Linked DNA regions of Homo sapiens: region 1 is linked to region 2. The links are contacts of gene promoters, found by promoter capture Hi-C in human tissues and cell types (Jung and others, 2019). All regions are on one chromosome and are shown on one strand. The core of a region is centred on a gene start or on the middle of the fragment in contact, and the rest is flanking DNA. Distances in the headings are between cores, read along the strand shown.

Region 1 (6,038 bases), core at 1,331-3,830, 130 kb before region 2:
TAGTCTTTTTTTTTTTTTTTTTGAGACGGAGTTTCGCTCTTGTTTCCCAGACTGGAGTGCAATGGCACGATCTCAGATCACCGCAACCTCCACCTCCCAGATTGAAGCAATTCTTCTGCCTCAGCCTCCCGAGTAGCTAGGATTACAGGCATGTGCCCCCATGCCCGACTAATTTTGTATTTTTAGTAGAGACGGCGTTTCTCCATGTTGGTCAGGTTGGTCTTGAACTCCCAACCTCAGGTGATCCGCCCACCTTGGCCTCCCAAAGTGCTGGGATTACAGTTGTGAGCCACCACACCCGGCCTCCAATTAGTAGTCTTTTATCCCTCACCTTCTTCCCACTCTTGCCCTCAGTTTCCAAAGTCCATTGTATCATTCTTATGCCTTTGCATCCTCATAGCTTTGCTTCCACTTATGAGTGAGAACATATGATATTTGGTTTTCTGTTCCTGAGTTACTTCACTTAGAAAAATGGTCTCCAATTCCATCTAGGTTGCTGCAAATGCCATTATTTCATTTCCTTTTTATAGTTGAGTAGTATTCCATATATATATATATATATATATATATATATTTGAGGCCAAATGACTTAGACGATGTCACCTAATTATTTGGGTAGACTACTTTTTTTTTTTTGAGACGGGGTCTCACTATGTTGCCCAGGCTGGAGTGCAGTGGCACAATCACAGCTCACTCATATATATATATTCATATATATATATTCATATATATATATTCATATATATATATTCATATATATATATTCATATATATATATTCATATATATATATTCATATATATATATTCATATATATATATTCATATATATATATTCATATATATATATTCATATATATATTCATATATATATATTCATATATATATACACACACACGTATATATACATATACACGTATATATGTGTATATATACATATACACGTATATGTGTATATATACGTGTATATGTGTATATACACATATATACGTGTATATGTGTATATACACGTGTATATGTATATATACATACACGTGTGTATATATACACGTGTGTATATATACATATACACGTGTATATACACATATACACGTGTATATATACACACACGTATATATGTGTGTGTATATATATACGTGTGTGTGTGTATATATATACACACATATATGTATACCACAATTTCTTTATCCATTCATTGATTGATGGGCATTTAGGCTGGTTCCATATTTTTGCAATTGCAAATTGTGCTGCTATAAGCATGCAAGTACAAGTATCTTTTTCATATAGTGACTTCTTTTCCTCTGGGTAGATACCTAGAAGTAGGATTGCTGGGTCAAATGGTAGTTCTACTTTTAGTTCTTTAAGGAATGTCCACACTGTTTTCCATGGTAGTTGTACTAGTTTACATTCCCACCAGCAGTGTAATAGTGTTCCCTTTTCACCACATCCTCACCAACATTCTTTTTTTTTTTAATTTTTTATTATGGCCATTCTTGCAGGAGTAAAGTGGTATCGCATTGTGGTTTTGATTTGCATTTCCCTGATCATTAGTGATGTTGAGCATATTTTCATACGTTTGTTGGCCATTTGTATATCTTCTTTTGAGAATTGTTTATTCATGTCCTTAGACCACTTTTTGATGGGATTGTTTGATTTTTTCTTGCTAATTTGTTTGCATTCCTTATAGATTCTGGATATTAGTCCTTTGTCAGATGTATAGATTGTGAAGATTTTCTCCCATTCTGTGGGTTGTCTGTTTACTCTGCCGACTGTTTCTTTTGCTGTGCAGAAGCTTTTTAGTTTAATTAAGTCCCATCTATTTATCTTTGTTTTTGTTGCATTTGCTTTTGGGTTCTTGGATATGAAGTCTTTGTCTAAACCATGTCTAGAAGGGTTGTTCCATTGTTATCTTCTAGAATTTTTATGATTTGAGGTCTTAGATTTAAGTCCTTGATCCATCTTGAGTCGATAGTTTTATAAGGTGAGAGATGAACATCCAGTTTCATTCTTCTACATGTGGCTTGCCAATTGTCCCAGCACCATTTGTTGAATAGGGTGTCCTTTCACCACTTTATGTTTTTGTTTGCTTTGTTGAAGATCAGTTGGCTATAAGTATTTGGCTTTATTTCTGGATTCTCTATTCTGTTCCATTGGTCTATGTGTCTATTTTTATACCAATACCATGCTGTTTTGGTGACTGTGGCCTTATAGTATAGTTTGAAGTCAGGTAATGTGATGCCTCCAGATTTGTTCTTTTTGCTTAATCTTGCTTTGGCTATGTGGGCTCTTTTTTGGTTCCATATGAATTTTAACATTTTTTTTCCTAGTTCTGTGAAGAATGATGAGGGTATTTTGATGGGAATTGCACTGAATTTGTAGATTGCTTTTGGCAGTATGGTCGTTTTCATATTTTTGATTCTACCAAGATAGGTATAATTTAAATGGTTAAGGAAGAAAGCAGAATTCTAGGTTGTATGTGTACTGTGATCACAACTGTGTAGAAAATATGCATAAGGAAAGCAAATGAGAAGGAATACACAAAAGTGACAATAGTAGTTACATTAGAATAGTGGGTAACTGAAATAAGGTCTGTGTCCCTTCTAGAAAAACCTAAATTTGGAGTTTCAGTTTCTGTACTCATATGTATTGTATAATGTATGTGTGTGTATATATGTTGTGTGTGTATAAGTGTGTGTATATATATGTATGTATATATATATGTATGTATGTGTGTGTGTGTGTGTATATATCTATATAGTATTTTTAAATTTTTTTTTTACCTGGGAGCATAGATTCAAATTACCCTGAATATACACTCTCAAACCTTTAGATTATATTTTTTTTTTACATTTTTTGAGATTTCTTGTACTATAGGACCAGAATTCTGATAATAAAAGCTGTTTCCAATCCTTGATAACTTGTGAGTCAAGATACTTGGCTGGGTGTGGTTGTTCACACCTGTAATCCCAGCACTTTGGGAGGCTGAGGCAGGAGGATTGCTTGAGTCCGGGAGTTCAAGACCAGCCTGGGCAACATAGTAATATCTCATCTCTACAAAAAATACAAAAATTAGCCAAGTGTGATGACCCATGCTTGTGGTCCCAGCTACTTGGGAAGTTGAGGTGGGAGGATCATTTGAGCCCAGGAGGTCAAGGCTGCAGTAAGCCATGATCGTGCCACTGCACTCCAGCCTGGGTGACAGAGCAACACCCTGTGTCAAAAATAAAAATAAAAAAATAAAAACTTGCTGCCCTCCCTTTTTCCTCATCTTGCCTGTGCAAACTAGATTGTTTCATGTGAAGCCTGTAGCAGTATGCCTCACTGCTTGTGTGAACTCCTTTCAGAAATTTGGTTGAACAACAGATGCTCTCAGAAACTCCAGAAGATGCCCAAACGATGACACTAAGTGTGGATAGACTGGCCCTTTTGGGTAGAACACATTCAGTCAGAATCATCATCGAAACCATGGGAGTTCCTCCAGATAGTCCTCAGATGACCCCTGGCAAAAAAAGCTATGCTGGTCCACCACCTAAGGTGACTACAGCAAAAAAGCGGTATGTCTCTAACATGAGAAAGCTAAATTTGACATTTTTGGAAAGTGTGTCTGATGGTAATAATCAACAATTGCATAATACTGTGATTTGGGATGTGTTTTCATATGCATCATTTAATCTACAGAAATATATTGAATCCCTGCTATATCCCAAGAACTGTGTAAGTAAGTATGGGACTAAAGAAAATTAAGATACAGACTCTGTTCTTACATATCTTACAGTTAGCAGGAGAGAGAAACATTTAAATGGCTATCTATAACATAAAGCTTTAGGGCCCAAAATAGATGTTTTGTATTAAAATTGCTGTGGGAACACAAGAAAGGGAGCCTTTGATTCTCTCAGACAGGGTTGGTGGAAGGCTTTGAAGAAGAGGTAGGGCCTCTGAGTACTAGAGGTCCTGAAAGTAAGATTTCAAATATATGTTGGATTTATCAGACGGAAATTAGGTTTATTGTTTGGTTAGTTTTTAATCACTTTTTTTTTCTTTTTAGCACTTTCTTTGTAGAATATCACTTTCCTGTGGGCTTTTCGGAAAGCGGATTGGGAAAGACAGCTTTGATCACTGAGGTTGTTCGACTCGCCTCCAGTAAAATTACAGATGGAAGTAAGAGACACACTGGTTTTCTGCACCTTAGACATTCTGACTTTGGAAGAATTTTTGAATTCCTAATTACTCATTTGACTTTTTTTTTTTTTTTTTTTTTGACATGGAGTCTCACTCTTTCGCCCAGGCTGGAGTGTGGTGGCGCAATCTCTGCTCACTGCAGCCTCCACCTCCCGGGTTCAAGTGATTCTCCCATCTCAGCCTCCTGAGTAGCTGGGATTACAGGCGTATGCCACCACACCCAGCTAATTTTTGTATTTTTTAGTAGAGACAGGGTTTCACCATGTTGGCCAGGGTGGTCTCAAACCCCTGACCTTAAGTGATCCGCCTGCCTCGGCCTCCCAAAGTGCTGGGATTACAGGCATAAGCCATCACGCCCAGCCAATATTTTCAAGGCTGTGCAACCATCACCACAATCTAATTTTAGAACATTTTCATCCCCCCTAAAAGAAACCCCATACTTACTAGCATTCGCTTCGCATTTCCCTCTTCCCCCAGCCCTAAGCAACTGCTAATCTTTCTTTCCCTATCAATTTGTCCATTCTGGATGTCTCATATAAATGGAATCATGCAACTTGTGATTTTTGTGACTACTGTCTTTGACTTACCATAATATTTTTAAGTTTCATGTTATAGTATATATCAGTACTTCATTCCTTTCTATGGCTGAGTAATACTCCATTGCATAGATATACCACATTTCATTTATCCTTTTCTCAGTTGCTGGACATTCGTGTTATTTCCACTTCCTGGCAATTTTGCATAATGCTGCTATGTGAACATTTGTGTACGTGGTTTTGTATGGACTGTGTGCTTTCATTTCCCTTGGGTATATATCTAATGGTAGAATTGCTGGGTCATATGGTAACTTTATGTTTTAACTTTTTCAAGAACTGCCAGACTGTTTTCAACAGTGGCTGCACCATTTTCCCACTAGCAGTATATGAAGGTTCTAATTTGTCTACATCCTCGTCAACACTTGTTACTTTCCATTCTTTTTTATTCTGGTCATCCTGGTGGATGTGAAGTGACATCACATTGATTTTGATTTGCATTTTCCTGATGGCCAATCATGTCAAGCATCTTTTCATGTGCTTATTGGCCATTTATAGATCTTCTTTGGAGAAATGTCTATTCAGATCCTTTGTTCACTTTCAAATCAGGCTTTTTGTTATTGAGTTATAAGAGTTCTTTGTATATCCTAGATACAAGCCCCTTATCAGATCTATGATTTGCAAATATTTTCTCCCATTCTGTGGGTTGTCCTTTCACTCTCTAGATGGTATTGTTTACAGCACAAAAGTTTTTAATTTTTATGTACTCTAGTTTATCTGTTTTTTTTTCTTTTGTTGCTTAGGCTTTTGGTGTTGTCTTTTTTTTCTAATTTGTTTTAAATATTTCAGATACAGAAAAAGGATAATATAATAGACATTTATGTTCCTGCCACCCAAAATTACAGCCACTTTTCTAATATATTCTGAGGATAGCTTTGCCTTGGTTCTCCAGTTTGATCTATGAATAGTTAGTTCATCAGTGTTAAGTTTATTCTCTGGGAAGTAGTTTGAGAAATAAAAGATGTGGTCCTAACACTCCTACTACATAGTCAAATAACTTTTCCTTTACAGCATAGTAACACGGGATTTTTAAATTTTTACTTTGCTTTGTTTTGTTTCCTTTTTGAAATAGATAATCCATTCACATGGTTCAAAATTGAACGGTTGCATCCTTGCAGACAATCAAGATTGTTGCTTTTATATCCTTCCTTAAGCCATTATAGATAGATAGATAATGTGTGTGTGTATATATATATGTGTGTGTGTGTGTGTGTGTGTGTGTGTGTGTGTGTGTGTGTGTGTGTGTATCAGCAAATATGTTTACTCCA
Region 2 (5,280 bases), core at 175-2,674:
ACAGCAAATTTGCCGAGCCTCTCCGGAATGCACAGCCAGACAGAGCTCAGCGCAAAAGCTAGAGAACCTGGCGGAGGGAGACTCACAGTGCCACAAAAAAACTTTATCTTTTCTTTTTTTTTTTCTTTTCTTTCTTTCTCTTTCTTTCTTGTCTTTCTGTCTTTCCTCTCTCTCTCTCTGTCTTTCTTTCCTCTCTTTCTTTCTTTTTTCCTACATGGCAAGATCTCCTCATGGCAGAAATAATCTGCCTTGACTTCTGTTTCCACGCTGCTTCTGCCAGGACCATGCGCTCGGCGTGTTTTTCTTTCCGCTATAATTATCCAGGCCCATCCCAGCTCTGGTCCCCTCAGCTGTTCCCTGGCAGTCCCTTCTGCTGGTGAAAACACATATGGCGCCGGCCTGACCAGGGTGTAAGTGTGTGAATATCAGGAAGATGACTGAACGTCTTTGGGACTCCGTTTCCTCATTGTAAAATGGAGGTTAATACCAGCCTTCTTCTACTCCCCAAACGCACGTGTTTGTCCCGGCCAGAGGGCCCAATTGTTGGCTGTTCACGCGTCAGTTACCCCCACAGGACGGGTCAGCCAATTAAAGGCGAACCAGGCCCGGTCCATCTCCTGACGCCTTTTCTCATCCCAGGGCTGGACAGGCAGCTGGCCTGGGCCCGGCTCTGCCTTGTCACGTGCGGGGGCCGGCCCGTTTGCTTGTCTGTGTGTAGGAGCGTGAGGTCACGCTGGGTGCTCCCGCCCCGCCGGGGCCTTTAGTGTCCTGGTCCCTAAACGCCAGGCCGCTCCACCGGGGGAGAAGGCGCGAACCCCAGCCGAGCCCAACGGCTGTTGTCGGTTGCCGGGCCACCTGTTGCTGCAGTTCTGATTGGTTCCTTCCCCCGACAACGCGGCGGCTGTAACCAATCGACAGCGAGGCCGGTCGCGAGGCCCCAGTCCCGCCCTGCAGGAGCCAGCCGCGCGCTCGCTCGCAGGAGGGTGGGTAGTTTGCCCAGCGTAGGGGGGCTGGGCCCATAAAAGAGGAAGTGCACTTAAGACACGGCCCCGCTGGACGCTGTTAGAAACCGTCCTGGCTGGGAAGGCAAGAGGTGTGTGACTGGACAAGACTTGTTTCTGGCGGTCAGTCTTGCCATCCTCACAGAGGTTGGCGGCCCGAGAGAGTGTGAGGCAGAGGCGGGGAGTGGCAAGGGAGTGACCATCTCGGGGAACGAAGGAGTAAACGCGGTGATGGGACGCACGGAAACGGGAGTGGAGAAAGTCATGGAGAGAACCCTAGGCGGGGCGGTCCCCGCGGAAAGGCGGCTGCTCCAGGGTCTCCGCACCCAAGTAGGAGCTGGCAGGCCCGGCCCCGCCCCGCAGGCCCCACCCCGGGCCCCGCCCCCGAGGCTTAAGCCGCGCCGCCGCCTGCGCGGAGCCCCACTGCGAAGCCCAGCTGCGCGCGCCTTGGGATTGACTGTCCACGCTCGCCCGGCTCGTCCGACGCGCCCTCCGCCAGCCGACAGACACAGCCGCACGCACTGCCGTGTTCTCCCTGCGGCTCGGTGAGCCTGGCCCCAGCCCTGCGCCCTTTGCGCCCCCCACGCTTGTTCTGCGTGCGCTGCCCGCTCTTCCATTTACCTTCTCTCCCACCCAAGTTTGTACTCTTTTCTTTCTCTCGGTTTTATTTTTTGTTTTTGTTTGTTTGTTTGAGACAGGCTTTCGCTCTGTCTCCCAGGCTGGAGTGCAGTGGCGCGATCTCGGCTCACTGCAGCCTCCACCTCCCAGGTTCAAGCGATCCGCCTGCCGAGTAGCTGGGATTACAGGCGCCCGCCACCACGCCTGGCTAATTTTTGTGTTTTGTAGAGATGGGGTTTCGCCATGTTGGCCAGGCTGGCCTCGAACTGCTGAGCTCAAGCAATCCGCCCGCCTCGGCCTCACAAAGTCCTAGAATTTTAGGCATGAGCCTCCGGGTCCGGCCTGTGCTAATCCTTTCTGTCCTTGGTTCTTTATTTCTCTTCTCTCTTTTTCTTAGTCCCTTTTGTTCTTTCCCTCTCCCGTTCAGTTGGCTGTCGTTTGAGCCTCCACCTTTTCACTCCCTCCTTTCCACCACGATGCCGAGCCCTGCCTTGGATGGGGACCATCAGCGATGACCACAATGACCTCTCCCTTACCAGGCAGCTCCAGGCAGTGTTCCTGCACCGCCTTTCCCAGGGCTTGGGGGCTTTTTCTAGTGGGCTTTGAGCTGCTCAATCTGGCCTCTGCAGGGCCGGCTCCCAGCCCTTCCAACCTCCTCACAGCCCGACCTGGGACCTAGCCAATTCCCGGAGAGTCTCTGTCCCATCGTGACCCCCTCACAACTCTCCCACTCACCAAAGTCTGATGACTGTGCTAGGGGGTGCTTATATAGAGTACTGAGTGTTACAAAAGCAGAAGTCTGGATGAGAACCAATTTGTGATATTAAGCAGGTGGGGTGGGGGTGGGGAGTGTACCTAGGTTCATTTTCCGCCCTGCTTTTCCCCTTTCCAGTGTGTGCACTTAACCAGTCCCTGGGCCCTGTTCCCCATCCCCCTCCAAGGCATGGATTGGGTGGGCTTGTGTGTCTTGGGGCAGGTGGCCCTTTCTAAACTCTCTGCCTTTGCTCACCCACAGGACACATAGTATGACCATTAGGTGTTTCGTCTCCCACCCATTTTCTATGGAAAACCAAGGGGATCGGGCCATGATAGCCACTGGCAGCTTTGAAGAACGGGACACCTTTAGAGAAGCTTGATCTTGGAGGCCTCACCGTGAGACCTTACAAAGCCGGGTAAGAGTCCAGTCCAAGGAAGAGGTCTCTTGCTGCCTCCTAACCCTGTGGTCTAGGGGCAGGAGTCAGCAGGGCATTAACAAAAATAATTACCATCCCCACCCCCGACAGTGAAGTGGCTCTTTCCAGTTCACAGAGCACTCTCACACCTCCCCGCTCTCATTCTGGCCCTTCAGCTGACTCGGACAAGCCAAGGATCTTGGTCCCCATTTTATAAAGGAGAAAACTGAGGCCCACGTGTAACAGTGATTGGCCCCAAGTCATCCCGGGAGCCAGCAGAAGAGCTAGGACAGGAACCTATTGTTCTAACTTCATATTGATGCTAGCTTTTGACTATCCCTGAAACCGAGATTGGTAATCAGCCCGGCTCTGAAACTGGTTATTTGCTGGGGACTGTAAAATAGGATTAACTATTTCTAGTCCTGCATTTTAATTGCTGTTAGTAGGGCCATCTTACCCACCCTCTGAAGGACCTGACTTGGCAAGCCCAAGGCAACATTCAGAATATGGCAGCTGAACCTCTGTGCACTTGTCTTTGGGCAGCAGCTGGGTCTTATTCTTCTCTGGCCTTCACAACATCCTGCAACCCAGCTCAAGGTCAGGAATGTGACAGACTCATGTCATCATATCTCTGATGCCCAGAGAAGGGATACCATTTGCCTGAGCCTTCTCAGTACTGTTTAATCAGCCTGTGAGAACTTTCCTTGTGAAAGGCCCTGTCTGTGCCTGGGGCTGATAAAACAGCAAGAACGAACTGAGGAGCTGGGCAGCAGTGCAAAGCAAATACTACCAGCTTTGGTGCCTGTAAGTGTGGCTCTTACTCATCTCACATGGAAATAAGGGCAGCCACCTTGCAGGGCTGCTCTGAGGATTGAGCTAATACAGTGCCCTGGGCGTTGGGGTGGGGAAAGTTGTGGAGCACCTCCTGGGGGAAGGGGGTGTCAGAGCAGGGAATCTGGGGAGTCCGAGGGCACCTTCATCAACCCAATCTGTCATTTGAGCACCAGTCTTCACTGAGCCTCGTGGGCAAGCTGGAGGGAAACAGGAATAAGGTCAGGCCCTGTTCTATAGGTCCCAGTGTAGTTGCTATGGTGAGTATCTTCATTTCCCTGCTTGCCCCAGCCACCTGGAGTGAGAAGCCCAAGAGGAAGCTGGGTGAGCTGTTTGTTTCCATGGGTCTCTGTGTTCACAGCTGACTCCCTTCACCAGCCAGCCCTTTCACCTGAGCCCCAGCAACAAAGGCAGTCAGGCGGGGCTCAAAGCAGCTGCTCCAATGAAGTCAAAGAAATAAGCTCAGGGGAAGAAGCAGGTCACCCTCCCCCACTAGGGTGCTGGGCTCACTTCCTCCTGGGGCAGTGGAGGAGGGTGTGGTTCCAACTCAGAACAAAATGGGGCTTTTGGTTTACTTTATCACTCTTCACAGCTCTGACCTGGACCCCTCATCCCTGCCTGTCTTGTGGTGTAAGTGCGGATCCCCCTAAGTTGGAGGAAAGGAAACTGGCCCAAACAAAAAGGAGAGCAGTTTTCTCTGCATCACATGGTAGGCCAGGAGGAGTCTAATGCCCCAGAGTTTACTCTCAGCCCCCAAAATCACCTAGCTAAATGTTACCTTATCTAAGAAGTCCTTAGGTTTTTTGGGGTTTGTTTTTTTTTTTTTTGAGACAAGGTCTCACTCTCTCACCCAGACTGGAGCACAGTGGCACAATCACAGCTCACTGCAGCCTCAACCTCCTGGGCTCAAGCAATCGTCCCAAGTAGCTGGGACTATAGGCCTGCACCACCATGTCCAGCTAATTTATTTTTATTTATATTTTTTAGACAGGGTCTCATTATGTTGCCCTGGCTGGTCTTGAACTCCTGGGTTCAAGCAGTCCTCCCACCTCTGCCTCCCAAAGTGCTAGGTTTTTTTTTGTTTGTTTGTCTGTTTTTTGAAACAGAGTCTTGCTCTGTCGCCTAGGCTGGAGTGCAGTGGCACGATCTCAGCTACTGCAACCTCCACCTCCTGGGTTCAAGTGATTCTCCTGCCTCAGCCTCCTAAGTAGTTGGGAATACAGGCGTGTGCCAACACACCCAGCTCATTTTTGTATTTTTAGCGGAGATGGGGTTTTGCCATGTTGGCCAAGCTGGTCTCAAACTCCTGACCTCAGGTGATTCGCCCGCCTCAGCCTCCCAAAGTGCTGGGTTTACAGGCGTGAGCCACCACACCCAGCCCAAGAAGTCTTTTCTGATCACCCACTCTTCCTTCTCTCCCAATGGCATTAGTTGTTCCCTCCTTTGCATTTTGAGAGTATGTCCTGTAAGCCCCAAATGCAGCTTGAATCATCTGCCCATCCACCCCCTGTGCCCAACAGTAAGCCTCCTCTAGAGTAGATACTATCTCCTGCATCTCAGTGAACCACTGCCCAGCAAAGCAGTCTTGCTAAAACAATGACTCTAGAGATCCTAAGCTGTGTGAGAGCTGGAGGAGAGAATTAGACTGATGGTCTGGG

The links. The method cuts DNA at HindIII sites, captures the fragments that hold promoters and counts their contacts. A contact is called where the count stands out against the background at its distance.
Region 1: a fragment that was not itself captured here is called in contact with the fragment with the promoter of UCP2 in region 2 in 5 of the 25 tissues and cell types used here (H1 embryonic stem cells, IMR-90 fibroblasts, dorsolateral prefrontal cortex and 2 more).

The regions. Positions count from the first base shown.
Region 1 is chr11:74,111,898-74,117,935 of GRCh38, reverse strand. It overlaps C2CD3 (C2 domain containing 3 centriole elongation regulator), which reads left to right. Exons shown (of 33, transcript NM_001286577.2): 10 at 3,343-3,552; 11 at 4,044-4,156. Among named protein-coding and RNA genes, the nearest start is that of C2CD3, 56 kb to the left of the region's middle. The HindIII fragment of the contact is 4,899 bases long and covers 131-5,029 here.
Region 2 is chr11:73,978,987-73,984,266 of GRCh38, reverse strand. It overlaps UCP2 (uncoupling protein 2), which reads left to right and starts at 1,424. Exons shown (of 8, transcript NM_003355.3): 1 at 1,424-1,546; 2 at 2,635-2,791. RefSeq lists enhancers at 87-587, 3,839-3,898 and silencers at 844-1,003, 1,304-1,513. The HindIII fragment of the contact is 13,644 bases long and covers 1-4,940 here.